Linked DNA regions of Homo sapiens: region 2 is linked to region 1. Evidence: promoter capture Hi-C in 16 types of primary human blood cells and fetal thymus (Javierre and others, 2016). All regions are on one chromosome and are shown on one strand. Each heading gives the region's core, a stretch centred on a gene start or on the middle of the fragment in contact. The rest is flanking DNA. Distances are from core to core; before and after follow the strand shown.

What was found. Contacts are between HindIII fragments. The CHiCAGO score rates a contact against its expected background, and 5 or more counts as called.
Region 2: a fragment that was not itself captured here is called in contact with the fragment with the promoter of GALNT3 in region 1 in 1 of 17 cell types (neutrophils); the score reaches 6.8 in neutrophils.

What each region holds. Positions count from the first base shown.
Region 1 is chr2:165,789,914-165,797,596 of GRCh38, forward strand. It overlaps GALNT3 (polypeptide N-acetylgalactosaminyltransferase 3), which reads right to left and starts at 4,334. Exons shown (of 11, transcript NM_004482.4): 1 at 4,102-4,334. LOC124906086 reads left to right here and starts at 3,673. Exons shown (of 6, transcript XM_047446887.1): 1 at 3,673-3,879; 2 at 4,006-4,424; 3 at 4,887-5,166. The coding sequence starts at 3,673. RefSeq lists enhancers at 3,084-3,990, 3,991-4,896 and silencers at 3,967-4,056, 4,127-4,276. The HindIII fragment of the contact is 5,078 bases long and covers 3,269-7,683 here.
Region 2 is chr2:165,938,403-165,946,085 of GRCh38, forward strand. It overlaps TTC21B (tetratricopeptide repeat domain 21B), which reads right to left. Exons shown (of 29, transcript NM_024753.5): 4 at 7,122-7,288; 5 at 4,817-4,939; 6 at 2,625-2,782. The region is part of intron 1 of TTC21B-AS1 (TTC21B antisense RNA 1); the gene reads left to right. Among named protein-coding and RNA genes, the nearest start is that of TTC21B-AS1, 8.4 kb to the left of the region's middle. The HindIII fragment of the contact is 2,806 bases long and covers 2,374-5,179 here.

The DNA of each region.
Region 1 (7,683 bases), core at 3,084-5,583:
TTTTGCTAACAAATGAGTTAAATTTTGTTTTGCTTTGTTTTCAGAGGATGATTTTTGAATTATAGATAAGAAATGGTACAATGTACTACTATCTATAAATAGAATACAGAGAGTGAGCAGGTTGTTTGTTCATTTGTTTTTTGATGAGATGAAGGTTCTGGTTTGAACATATATAATCTCCAGTGATGAACAAATGTTAAAGATGTCCAATAGGCAATCATATAGAAAAGAAAATTAGTTTGGACAGTTTGAAACTGAAACAATTATAGGGAAAAGGTGTACTTGGGGGAATATTCTCTCTTTAGTGCCAAAAATAAGAGCCCAACTCTGAGAATGACCCAAGGAAGTGTCATATAATTGTCAGTAGTCTCTAATGACCTAGAATTCAGAGTCCTACTTGTCTTTGCTTTGCAATAAGTGAATGTACTTTTGTCTCTTGCCACTGCTGGAATTGATTTGAATTCAGTTTTCCCCCTTAGTGTACATGAGTTGTGTTAAATTTCACCCAAATTACATAGTATGAATTATTTTGATACTAACTAAATGCATAATTGAACAGCTAACTGAAAACACCTTCCTTTTCAATAGGATTTTATATCTATAAAGTATCTATCATTCCAAATGTATTTTTGCACTTGATGGACTAAAGAACTGAATACATGTGAAGATGATTCAGGCACTGATCATTTCTAAAATCCTAAATATGATAATATTTTCCTTAGGAGAAATATTTCACCCACCAAGAATGTAAAGGCAGGTTAAAATTGAAAGTGTCTACGGAAGGCTTAATTATCCAATCAGAGCTTCCAAGACTACATTCCTACAAATCATTGAGGGATCTATTTTAATCTCTCAATGTAGTCTTTTTGTGGAGAGGGGGAGTGTAATTCCTACAATTTGTCTCATACTTGTTTCATAGTAAAAAAGAAAAGCATTAAATATTAACAGAATATAAACCAAATAATAAACTGGCTATGTTTTCTCTAATAAATTTTCAGACTCCACCCAGAACTCTAACTCAGTCATAAAACTTTAAGAGTTCAGAATAGAGCTGGACAGAAGGTTTCTCCCTCAAAATTTCACTGAATTCTTATCATCAAAATCCCCTCAGAAAAAAATATTTCTAGTTTTTCCTGTTCCCAAATACACTACAGCATGATGAGAACCCATTTAACACAAAATATGTATAATGAACAAGGTTTCATGTAGTTCTTAATATTTGAAAGATTTAATCTAGCACCAAGGTCCTGGAGCCTCAAGCCCTACAATACATGTTTAATTAGGATTACAGTAAAGTTTTTAAGAAATAATTTATTTTCTTTCATGTGAGTGGGTGTGTGCCTGTGTGTGTGTGTGTGTGTGTGTGTATACGCATGTATGAGACAGAGAAAAAGAAAGCTGGTAGAAAAATCAGCCTTTAAAAGAACAAAAATTCAACAGAATAGTGCTATTTTCACATTGAGGGCTCCAGCACTTTCGTGGTCATAAAGCAGTCTAATTGTTTAGACCAACGTTTTTAAAAATAAAATAATAAAGAACATACATGTTGTAAGGTTAAGCACTGTTTTATATTAATAAAACTTGTTTCATTTATATACACTCACATTGGAGTTTACAGAGTTGAGGCAGAGAATAAATTAGTTATTGAGGATTGCAGTAAAAGGAAAAAAAAGTTTAAAGAAACTTAGTGTTAAGGAAGTGTGCTTGAAATAAAAAATCTGGAGTGTTGCAAATGGATGAAAGGCACTGGGTAGCTGCCTCATAAAATATATTTTAAGCCAATATAATAAAAAGATCAGAAGACTAAATAATGTTATCCACATTGACTTAAAAAATTAACTGTGGCTTGGAAATACCAAGAAGGAACTAAAAGTCTCAACTGACATGGCATCATCAATATGCATGCTATTCCACAATGAGAGGAGCATGATGCCTTCACTGGGTAGTTTCCACGAAGTCAGGCAATATTTGGACAAGTAGAAATGAGGGTAAATCAGAGTGAAGAAAGAGCAATGGACAATTCTGTAATTACAAAGGCCTTACAAATTATATGAAAGAAAAAAGATAAACATCTTATGGTAAGTGAGGATGTGGGTGGTGAAAAGTAAGATACAGGAGTCATGAGTCAAGCCACTGGAATGATCATGCCATCTCTGAGTGAAATGAAGTTAGAATACCTCTCTTGGCTTCAATTTTTCATAAATGGATGGTTTGAGTATTGAATCTCCAAAGTGAGAAAGGGATCTCGAGAATGCTAGGGCTGGAAGATACTCCTGATTGTTTTTAAGGTTTTGTTATCTTAATCTAGGAAAGTATTATTTTTCCTATTTAACAGATAGATTAAGTTACACTGTTACTCTAGCTAATGAAAACATGTTACATTTCTCACTAGAGGTTAAGAGGAAAGACAGTCTGGTAACATCTGCCTAGTAAGTAATGAAGACTAATATTCAAAATTCAGGGAACAACTCCTATATCTCATATTTAAACAGTATTTAGCACATTTGTTTCTCTGTATGGAGACAAGATTAAGAGGTCAGGTGAGATCCTTTTAAGAAATGTAGAAAAGTGGTGATTGAATTAATAATTACATCATGTTATGCTGTGGTTGGCTTTTAGATTTCCATCTAATCTTAAAAAGAAGAAGAAAAATAACCCCACTACATGTTGCATCAGGCATTTTAAGTAAAACGTGCAATTTAAAAAATATTTTTAAAATGTGTGGAGATAGAACAAAACAATGGAATTGTTATTATTATCAGAAACTTCTACGTAAAAATGTTGGTTAAAGCAATATATAAAGATTGATTCTCGGTACAAATTGCTTGGAAAGTTTAACATGTGCACTAGATTTCAGATATTAAAAGTTAAATTAAAAAAAAGAATCTAATGGCAGCGTGTGACTTTAACCTCATGGATTTTAGCCACAAACGCAAAGAAAAATATATACAATAAAAGAAGCAACAGATTTTCCCACAAGCAGAGATTTTCTAATTAAAATGCTGTCACTTTAATATTTTTTAGCTATAGAATTTGACTGTAAATGTCTTCATTATGTAGTGTAACTTCTATAGCAAGTTATGTTAACGTTTTCAAGAATCGGAAATATTGGTAACTCGATGGGGTTCTTAAAACAGAAATAGTTTCTTTGATGAGTTGGAAAGAGAAGGAAATAAAAGTCTAAGGTAAGCGCCAGTTTCACCCTCAATTCTTAGGCTTCAGAAAAGCCTAATTAGGCAGGGAAAGGAATCTGGGCCTGGCACACCCAAGCTTAGACGTGGCAGGATCCTGAAACAATGTTTTTTTGAACCTTTGAGTCATATGCCACAGGCAAACCATAGCCGCGATATGCAGGTCCTTAAGTCAACAGGTCCTCTAACGAGATGGTGAGTGGTTGGTGCGTGGCAGTTGGATTTCTTCCCGCCACGGAAGAAAAGAACTCTTCTCCATTGATCAGGAAAGTGGGCCCAACTCTGGCCTGGAGAGCGCACCCGGAAAAGTGCAGAGTCGAAACAGAGAGAGAGGGGTGTCCGCGTCCCGGCCACAGAGCCCTTTCCAAACCACTCGGAAACCATTTAAATGGCTCGGCGGCCGCGGTTTGCAGCCTAGAACTGTTTGGGGTCCCCGGCTAGGAAAGTTGCCTGGCAAAGCCATGTCTTTCGCTGTCGCGGGATGTCCTCTCGGGCAGAGAGGCTGGAGGAGACAGGCAACCTGCTAGCCGGAGTGGAAGCGCGCCCGCCTCCCGCCGGGCCCTCCCTCTCAGGGTCCCCACGCTGCGACCCTCCCAAGGGCAAGTCCGGGGCCACCAGGTCTTTGGTCTCCGTCCAGCTCCTCAGGGGCCGCCCCATAGGGACTGGCGGGGGCACCGTGGGCGAGAGGGTGTGACCGGGCTCCCCCCCGAGGCGCCACCTGCCCCTTGGCCCAGGGCGCCCCTTTCGGGATCTCTCCAGGGGCAACCGACACACTGCTCTCGAGACCGTCTCCAACCGGCCACCTGGACCGTAGCCCTGTCCCCAACACGTGAACCCCTGCGGCCGTCCTCCCGCCTGCTCTAACGCAGCCCAGGGGTACCGCGTCTCCCTCCGCCTGCCGCCGGCTTACCTGGCGGGTGGGCAGGGCAGGGTGGCGGGAAGCGGCGGCCGGGCAGGCGCTGGACGTGGGCTAGGCGCCAGGTGCAGGTGGCGGCGGCTGCGACTCCGGTTGCTGTCGCCACAGTTGCGGCTCAGTAGAGCTCCTCCTCCGCCGCCGCCTCCTGCCTTCCCGCTGGGCCTCCCGCGTTGCCTGGAGAGGCAGAACCGAGGCTCGGCTTCCACTTGGAGTCTCCCAGGTGAGCTCCAGCCTGCGACGTCGGCAGGGGCGAGGCCCCACTTCCGCGCCTGCGCGCCAGCCTCCCGCCCCGCCCCAGCCCTACCTGAGCGCTCCAGGTGAGAACCTTGGATCGCGCGCGCAGGGTGGGGGCGCCGTCCGGGCCAAGCCTGGCTGTCGCGCGGCTTCTCTCTGAGTGGTCGGCGAGGCTGCTGCTCCGCGCAAGTTGTGGCTCCCGGCCCATCTACATTGGAGGAATCCTGCACTGACCTGGTGGCAGTGATCACCTTGTAGCCAGAACACAGTCTGCTGGGTCCTTGGGGAACCAGAAGTTCTAGATTTCCCCCACACGGTTCCTCCCTTCCTCCTCGGTTCGCCAAAATGAAGGGGTGCGCTGCCTCCGAGGACCACTTCGGGAGGGCAGCAACTGCTGGCTCATGTGGTTTCTTCGGGCAGGGTTCAGCAGCTTCTGTCACCAGTTAGGTTTCGTGAGCTTCCTTCCCGTGTAGTCTTGATTTCATCACTTGACTCACTTCAGCGCAGCTAGTGGTTTCCGTTTCTGTACGCGGGCGCTCTGGTAGGGGCGCCTCACGTCCAAAGGAGGAGTCTTCTTCCAAAGAAGAGCCTTTGGTATTTGGCAGAGCCTCGCCAATTTGGGGCGCACCTCCCCTTCCTGGGATGCTCTCAGAAGGCAAACCAATTCCCAGAAGAGAGGGAAAAACAGCCACAACAGAGAGAACCTTTGCTGTCCCTGTTTGGAAAGAGATTGGGATTTCCTGGAGAGGGCTTGCTTCTACTGCAGGTTTGTTTAAAAGCTCAACATCTATTCTGGAAGAGAACAACGCAGACTCCAGGAAGATGGTGGGTTTTGCTGTTTTTAAGACAAAAAAAAATTGTTAAACAGTATTTGTTCCATTTATGACACAACTTTCTGTTTCAGCCTTCCTTCTGCTGCTGCAACAAACATTGACACACCCAAAACCAGGACTTAAAATGGCCTTTATACCTTTCTATGAACTCATTTCTTTGGCCCTATCCCAAAGATATCTAGGGATATAAATAGAAAACTAGCTAAAAACTTTTTGGTGTCGTGTTTAATCACATGGTGGTAGGTTTTACTATGAAGTTTAGTTGTGGCCTTCCTCCTACATTTTGACATGCTCTTATGGTGCTTATTCACTGTTTTATTAGTGCTATGCGTGACCTAAAAATAAGGTTTAAAATACAGTTTAGTATAGTATCAACAAGTGTATCTTTAGTATTTGACTACTCTAAGACATTGGTTTTAGCATCCATAGTGCTATTTTATACTAGGACATCTATGAGTTAGGGTTTAAGACTTTAGTAAACTAGGTAGTTCTTTGCTTGTTTTACATGTCATGGTTATTTTGCGAGCACCAAGGAACCTCCATGTATTTGCAACATTTTAATATCAGTACCTACAAGCAATTGCCAAGCTCCCTTTCCCTCCAAAAACAAACAAACAAAAAAATAGTTCAGGAGATACTTGTGTGTATTGATATACTAACTTGGCAGTGTTTTTCCTTAGGTCCAGGTCCAGAACTGAAAATACTAACTACTGAAATTCTCTTCTCCTTCTCCTTCTTCTTCGTTGTGCCACTTTGTCGTTTACCCCTAACCAGAGGTTAATGTTAGTCTTTGGAAAATTTGTAAGGTATCCTAAATGTATAACCAAGAAACCTGTACCCTTTTGCACGCACCACCCATCTCTGAATGAAGAGCCAAAGATTGTCAGAGTTTTGATGTCCCACCAGGCGAAGAGCAACACTTTTCACTGACAATCAGGACAGAGCAGATGGATATAGAATAACAATCTGGAATCCAAGGACTGAGATGCATTGACAGCAAGACTAGTAACGTCAAATAACAACTGAAAAGAGAAGCTAGGGTAGACCTATTAAAAGAGAGAGCCAGCAAACAGGACCAAAATGCTGGATGAGGAGTCTAAAAAGAACAGAAGAAACAAAAAAGATCAGGAGTTACTAAAATTTGACTGTCAGTTTTACAATGGAGACAGACAATTTAAAGAAGGAAGCAGTTTTTCTGAGTGTGGCATTACTTGTGCACGTTGAGTGTCATATATATAGAGAGAGAGAAAGAGAGAGAGTGAGAGAGAGTGAGAGAGAGAGAGAGAGAGATATCTTGGGGATGAGACCTGTCTAAACACAAAATTCATTTATGTTTCATATACACCTTATACACATAGCCTTAAGGTAATTTTATAAAACATTGTAAATAATTTTATGCATGAAACAAAGTTTGTGTAAAGTACTTATGTGTGGAATTTTCAACTTGTGGTGTCATGTTGGTGCTCAAAAAGTTTTGAATTTTGGAACATTTCAGATTTTGGATCTGTGGATTAGGGATGCTCCACCTGTACTATTTTACACAACGTTGCTTGTACTATTTCAAAGCATTCTGAAAGCAAAGTCTTAATATTAATAAAAAATTTTCTATGTGACAATAAAATTAAAATGCTGCAGGCCCAAGAAAAAAATATTATCATATTGAAATATTTAATGCCCCAAATCTAATCAGATGCAGGTTTTTGAAAGTACCATCCTATTCAAAATTATGAAATAAAGAATTTGTTTCATAAAGAGAAATTAGCATTTCATCATAAATAAAATCCAGGAACCTTAGTGTAGACATGCTTCAGAAATAAGCTAATTTTAATAGTATATGTTTGACATATAATGACAGTTAAGATAGAAAACTGGGCAGATTTTACACAGGAAGGAAACAAACATTCTCTCTCTCTCTCTCTCACACACACACACGTACTTATTACACACACACACACACACACACACACACACACACGACTAGCCACAAAATGCTCATTTGCATGGATTTGAAACAATACTCACTCCTTAATACTTTCTGTTAACATTTAAATTAATGCCAAGACCAGCACCTGGCACTTAGTAGGTACTTAATAAATATGTGTTAAATGAATAAATTGACCCATCAAGTACCATAAAAAAAATGCCTAGTGTCTTGAGCAATTTACAGGTCTAAAGAATGGTTTTACCCAACAGTAATGACAAATAATCCAAGGCAGATAAGAACACTAGACTGGTAATCTGAATTGCAAAGTTCTAAGAACAATAGCTACCAGCTTTCACATACCTACATTTCAAAAGACACTACGCAAAACAACTTACACTCCTACAAATTACTTTACATCTGGCTTAAATATTCTCTTCCACAAAACAAAATAGTGGTACAAGATGATCTACAGGCTTCTTTACATTCTGATTCATATAAACTCTATGCCAAGAGAATTGGGCAAATAAATAAATAAATAAATGAAACCTTCTGGATATAGCAATAATAATTAATGGGACAGCAAAG
Region 2 (7,683 bases), core at 2,527-5,026, 150 kb after region 1:
TGAGCATGAATAACTGCTGATATCACGAAAAGAGAGAGACAAGCAGACATTCTGTCACTGTGATGAAAGACAACAGTACCACTCATGAAGTAATTGCCAAAACAACAAAATTGAATGTGAATTTAACCAAACCTCTAGATCCAACTACCAACTTACAGGAAATACAGAGGATAAAGCAACAAGTTGTACTACACCATGGCAGACAAACAACAAAATCTAGATCATGGAAAATGCTACAGGACAAAACACTGGTTTCTTCACTTAAAAAAATGGCAAGAAGAAAAAGAGAAGGGAAACAGGGAAACAGAAAAGGCAGGAAGAAGGAGGGAGGGAGAGGGAAGAGGGGAAGGAGAAAGGAAGGGAGAGGGAAAGAAAGAGTGAGAAAGAACTCACAGAGACAGGGAGACAGCCTCGAGACTTTAAAGATATAAACCAATCACCATATGTGGACTTATTTGGATCCTGATTAAAAAATAATTTATTTAAAAAACACAATATTTGAGACTATTGGTAATTTGAACACTGGATAATTGATATTAAAAAGCTATTTTTAATTTTTTATATGTGATAATGATATTGTCATTATGTTGTAGAGGGAAAAGAATTATCCTATTTTTTCAACACATCTTGTGATATTTACAAATGAAATGATGCAGAGTTTTGAATTTGCTTCAAAACGAAAATTAAAGCCAAGAACCAAATGGGAGTTTAGTCATGTGGTGACGGTAGCTAGGGGCAGGAAACAGATAAAGAGTACCTCATGATGTTCTTCTGTCTGCTTTTACATAAATCTGAAATTCTCCATAATAAATGATAGACGATCTTAGCAAAGATGTTACCAAGATGTTCGGCCCTGAGATAGCCATTAATATTTTGTCAGATATGAATAAAAGTTAGACATGCTTGCAAGTCACTTATTCTCAAGATTCTAAGACTATAAACCTTAATCCAAACTGAAGTAAAGGTGACTTTCTATGCAATTTATACTTCATTTGTATCTTGAAAGTATCCTGCCTATTGTTTGCATGAAAAGTTCTATTAAGACATTCTGATTTTAAAGGTATATTTGTATTACCTATGAAATTTACTTTTCTGTAATTTCAGTATTAAGTGACATGAATTCATCTGTTAGAAAGTATTGATTTGTGACTCAAATATATTTATTCTTGATCTCATGGCTTTAAAGTCACTGACACATAAATCATATCTATGTGTCAGTGACTCCAAAATACTAGCTATAGCCTAGACCTCTCACAAGAACTCCAGATTCAGACATCCAGCTGCCTGCCCATACATCCATCTCTACTTTGACTTCTCATAGGCATTTCAAACTTACAATGTTGAAAGCTAAACTCCTTACCTGCCCTGAAACCTTCTTTTTCCATAATCACCCTGTCCAGCTGAAGCAAACTCTATCCTCTAGTGCAAGTAGTGGGTAAGAGCACAGACTCTGGGACTAGAGTGCTCTGGATTTGAATCCTGACTCCACCACTAAGTAATTGTGTGGCTCTGGAGAAACTTCTTAACCTCTTTGTACCTTAGTCCACTCAGCTGTAAAACAGAAATACTAATAGTACCTTCCTCTTAGGGTTACCCTAGGAATAAATAGCACTTCCTATGAGCCAGGCATTCTGAACACTTCACAACAGTTCATTATCATCATTGTTGTTGTTATTCTGGTAGTTCAGGCCAAAAACCTTGGAATCACCTTAAACTATTCTTTCTCTTACACCTAAACAAAATGCTACAGGTCCAGATTCCAATCACTTCTCAAAGCACTTCCACCACAACTATACTGGGCCTGCCCCGACCATTTCTCAATGATGGCAACAGCTTTCAAAAGGTTCTCCCTGCTTCTGCCTTTGCCTGCTCGCCCACAGTCTGTTTTGCACATGGCAGAGTGATTCTTTTAAAACAGAATTTAGATGATGGCACTCCTCTGCTCAAAACCCTCCAGTAACCTCATGCTTCAGAAGAAAACCCCAAATCCTTACATGGGTAACAAGACCCTTCACCATCTAGCACGGGCTCACTCCCACCCTTTGTCTCAGACCTCACACCTTACTCACCTCTCTTACTCCTTCCCACTCCTCAAACATATGACATGTGCTCCCACCTCGGGGACTCTGCATTTGCTTTTCCTTCTTTCTGCAAAGTCTTCTCTCAAATATCTGCATGGCTTACTCCCTTACCTTCTTTAGAAGATGGCTCAAAGGTCTCAGCCTTCCATGACCATCCCATAAGATTGAACCCCTCAACACTCCCCATCTCTTTCTTGGTTTATCTTTTCCCCATAGCACTTATACTTTCTAACATACTACACAATATACTTATTTGGTGTGCTTAGTATATGGTTCCTTTCACTTAAATATAAGCTTCATGACCACAGGGATATTGGCCTGTTTGCCTAAAAAGAGTGTCTGTCTTAAACCAGGAATCAAATATTTATGTAAATCAATAAATTCAATGTTTAAAAGCAGTATGATTTTAAGTATTTCCTCGGTTCCACACTGTTTGAAAAAAATCAAATTTAAAAACCCTTATGAAAAAAATTCACAGATGTCGCTTTTTCTCAAAATTATAACCAAATCCAAAGAGACTTGTGTCATCTTTTATTACTTAACCTTTGTGCTGTCTCAACTGTCTGGTCCCAATCCTGCAAGGCTAGTTGTAATTTCATTTTCTTAACAAAAGCAGGAAGGAAGCTCGGAAAATTCACGATTATCTGGTTCACAGTCTCCAGGGCACCTGAATAATTCTGGCGCATCTCAAGGCATTGTGCCTAATGGAAGGGAAAAAAAGTGATATCCAAACTGTGATCTTTCATATCAAAGTTCTCATAACGCAGAGCAGGCAGAGTATGAGCGTTTAATACTTACTTTTCTGTGAGGAGCAGTTATCACTTTTTAAGTTTTTGTCAAAACAAAATTTTAAAACATCACAGAATAATACAAATACATTATATAAGCTATTGTGTTTTAAAATTTACTTTTAAATGGCTGAAAAACATGATTAAAGGATAAAATTTTTTAAAATGTTCTCGGAAATACCATAAAATAATGTTTCCATTTAAAACAAAATTATCTTTTTAGATTAAAATGTTTCCAGGAAATTTTCAAGTAGCATCTAAAATTTTAAGAAATTTTAGAAATTTTGCATCTTTTTTAAGAAATTATTTTCAGGTTAAAGAATATATGATTTTAAAGAACAAGCAAAATACAGTTCAAACAAATCCCTCTACTTCAACATTTTTCACTTCTATGAATTATCTGAAGGAAATAATTGGACAAGACCACAAGGAAGTATATAGATGATATTTATGGCAGAATTGTTTATGTATAAAATAATCCCAAATGTACCTAGAGGAGAAAATTATAGTATATCTAATTTAATAAAATGTTAAGTAATCATTAAAAATGATGATATAAATTTGTAGACGTAGATTTACTGACATGAAGAGATATTATATATAATAGTTTAACTGGTTATTTCCAATGGTGATGCTCATTTTCTCATTCAGATGTTATTGTATTTTCTGAAAAAAAGTTTTACTATGTTCATGTATCTCATAGTCAGAAAAAATAAAGCTATAAATATAGTTAGTACATTAAAAAGAGATGATGAGGCAAATTTTTATCAACTAGCTTTTCTTTAAGAGAAGGAAAATGATCAAGAAAAGTATATGGCCAATTTCTTCAGCAGTGCTATTAGGTAAAACTTGAGGGTAGTGGGCCTGAACACAAGATGTTCAACAGGCTTACTGTCCACACAAAGTGACAGGAAAAGTGATGTGGAGACATTAACAAAAGTCAAGACATGAATCCTCTCCCCTTCTTTTTTATCCCTCCAAATTACTGCTTATCTAGCAGACTTGTTCCCAACATATAATTTCTTTTTGCTGAGTCAAAAAAAAATTAAGGCATTTAGATAGCATCAATGGGGATTGAAGAAAGGGTCCTACTTAAATATTTCCATCCATCAGTAAGTTCTAATGACTCCTTCAATTGCTCATCCCTCAAAATGTATGTCCGATCATGTTATTTCTCTGTTCAAAACTTTGTATTGGCTGCCTGTCTCTCTAATAGAAGGTAGAAGCCAAAGGCCTTACAGAACAGGCCAGGCCCACCACTCCTCCTCACCCCCATCCCACCTTTCTTCCTCAGGCCTTCACTTCTGTTCTCTTTACTCAACCCACTTTGGCCTCCTTGCTAGCCCTGAATACACCTTAGGGTACCTGAACTCATCATCTCCTCTATTTGAAATACTTTCCCCAGATGCCTGCAGGGCTTTAACCCTCACCTCCATAAATGTGTTTGCTCAAATGTCACTTTCTCCGACCACTTCATGTAAAACTGGAAGTTCATGCCCTAGCTTTTCCAGCTGTATTTTCCATTATACTTATCACCTTCTAATATACCATATAACTTACTTATTTTGTTTATTGTCTGCCTCCATCAGTAGGATATAAGCTCCATAAAAACAAGAGGTTTTCTCTTGCTCAGGGTTTCTAATATCTAGAGGGATGCCTCACATACATAAGACACATAATAAATGCTGAGGAAAGAATGTGTGAACCAAAACAACAACAACAATTAACAGTTACAGCTGATCCAGGATTCAGGAACTCTGGCAGGGAATACATTTCTCTAGTGTATTGCTCATTGTCCTACACAAATGCCAGTCTACCTTACAGCTGTGAGCTGACAACAGTATCATGAAAATTATCAACTTTTTTGAGCTACTTGGTTTTGTCAGGTTTCAAATATATTATGAATATATTTTGAAACATGATTTATTTACCCTAACTCCAACTCACCTTACCCAGCAGAGCAAAAGTATCATTCCCATCTTGGAGTCCCTCTTCAAAATACTTCAGTGCTTTTTTAGTGTAAGGCTCTTTTCCTCTTGTAATATCAAGCCATGCTTTCAAAACGTGTCCCTGTAAAATGAATAATTCTATTTTTACTTTTTTAGAAATGAGAGAAATAAATGTTAATGAAAGAGCCTAATGTCATTTTTCTGGCAATTAATAACAAAAAGGACTCTATCAAATATGTTATGAACAATAAAATTCTGTTAGTGAAATCACTTTTGAACCCTTGCCAGCCTAGTGTCTTGGGAACTATACTACAAATTTCAGCCTTTAACATTACTATTAAGCTCAATATTAAAATTAAGAAGCTTATCAAATATTCCATTAGTGTTAAAACCATTATTTTCTCTGAGACTTTGCTAGTAATTGACAATTAATAACACTTAAACATGAAATTCAATATATAGATGAGAATTTGTTGTTTCTTTTTGGACAAACCGTCTAAATGAACTAAGATGAAATAACAGAAGAAGCCTTGCTTCACATATCTTAAAGATTCAGATAATCTGGCAACAATCTTCTTAACCTCTTTGATTAGTCCATTGAATTTCAAATGACAGGTGGATAGCCTGAGAAATTATAAACTGAAGAACTCATGGATATTTATCTTTACACATGTTAGTGGGCCGATGGGTTGTAAGACATATGGGATTGAAAACAAGATAAAAACTGGTTATTTTTCTCTTTAAGGTCAAATAAAAAACTGTGAAATGTGCTTTTTCTATTAAAAAAATCTAGGTTAACTGACAAATTTATAAACCTTTAACTAAGACTATATTTACCTCCCTGTATTTCACCCGAAAATACAAATAAGGATCTTAACCAATGCTATGTGCTAAATCAGTGCCATCATTGAATGGTTTTAACTATTGTCTCTGTGTGGATGATTCCCAACCTATATTTCTAGCCGAAAACCTCTTCTAAATTTTTCTTTTTCCAGAAATTCATCTGCTATCTCCATCTTACTGTTCTGCCAGCACCAGAAATACAGCATGTCTTAAGACAAATAGATCACTTCCCTTTAAGATTAGTTTCTTATGCCAATGTATTTTCTATTTATGCTAACTGGTCTCTAATTTTTTTAGGCTTAAGGCCTCAAAGACATCCTAATACGTGACAACTTGTTATCTTTCTAAACTATTATCAGTTCACAGGTCCTGTGGGTATTTAAAAATTTTGAACTTTGTACTCACTGTACAATATTTTAGTGTAGTGCCTCAAAACCTTCCACAAGGAAGTACTATCTTTTTCTTTTCACTGCATTTCAGTTTATTCTCAAGCCACTTCATCCAAGAAACCATTGTCTAATTAATCTTCTGGATTTGCACTCTAATAAAATCACTACCATAGTTAAAAGTCTTCAATAGCCTCTCAATGCATGTCAATCAGATACAAATATTTTTAACTAGCAGTCAAGATCCTTCAATTTGTCTCAAGTTACCTCTCCAAGCTTTTCTTCCCTTCTCGTTATCAACGTATCCTGTATTCCATCAAATATGAGTATCTTAGTGTACCCTCAAGTAACATGTCTCATTTCCATCTATTATTTCTCACCTTGGGAGTACCTACTTCCCTTTCCCATAATCTTTGCCTGTTGAAATTGTATCCATCTTTCAGGTTTTAGCTCAAATGCTAGTTCCTTCAAAAAAATTCTTTCACATTCTCTTAACACTTAAGCGTGTGATCTCTCCTTAATTTAAAACAGTGCCTAGCACAAAGTAAGCAAGCAATAAATGTTAGCTATTATTTTCTTGCATACTTTAATCACATATCTCTCATATCATCTATCATTTTTCTCACAATATTAGCTGGGGATGTGCTCTATGCACTACTGGGTTATTCATTCATGAAAGCAAAGTTTATGTATTATTTTCCTTTGCATTATTAACAGTACAAATAATGGTACCTTGTATCTAGAGCTGTTCAATAAGGAGAGAGGGAGAAAGGAAAGGACAAAATATGGAGGGAAGGAAAAAAAGGTAGAGAAAAAGAAAGAGAAAAACAGAGAGAAGGAACCAGGCAGGGATCTTTGAAGACTCAGTAGCATAAAACTAACCTTAGAGAATTCCTATTCTACAATACACTATTAACCATATTGATAACCATAAATGGGTTAAAATAAAGCTGTTATTTACAAACTGGCAATAGAGTGAACAATAATAAAGAGCTAAATCACAGATACTACTGGATATATCAATAACATAAGCATTTTTTAATGTTATTATTTTAAACTCAGAAAAATAGCTACCTGTTTACTACCATCTGATATTTTGATCATTCTGTCAATATATTCCCTTGCTTTATCATGGCGACCAATGTGCCATAAAAATAAGCCTGCATGGTATAAGGCTTTCTCTCCAGCTCCTTTACGTTGTTCCTTCACTCTGGCATCTGATTCCAGAATAGCTTCTCTATCTGGTAGGGGAAAATGATATTAAATAAAAATTAAATTCTGGATCAGGTATTTATAATAGGTCAGATAATTAACAAGGCAAAAAATTTACTTCTCTCTATAGTGGTACTGTCTAATAGAAATAAAATGCAAGCCATATATGTAACTTAAAATTTTCTAGTAGCACTATCAAAGAAATAGAAAGAAACAATTAAAATTAATCTTAATGTTTTATTTAGCCCAATATATCTAAGATATAATTTCAATGCATCATTGACATAAAAATTAATGAGATATTTTGCATGCTCTTTCCTTACTAACTGTGAAATCTGGTATTTCATAATAACAGCACATCACAATTAAGATGCTAAATTTTGGCTGGGCGCAGTGGCTCACGCCTGCAATCGCAGCACTTTGG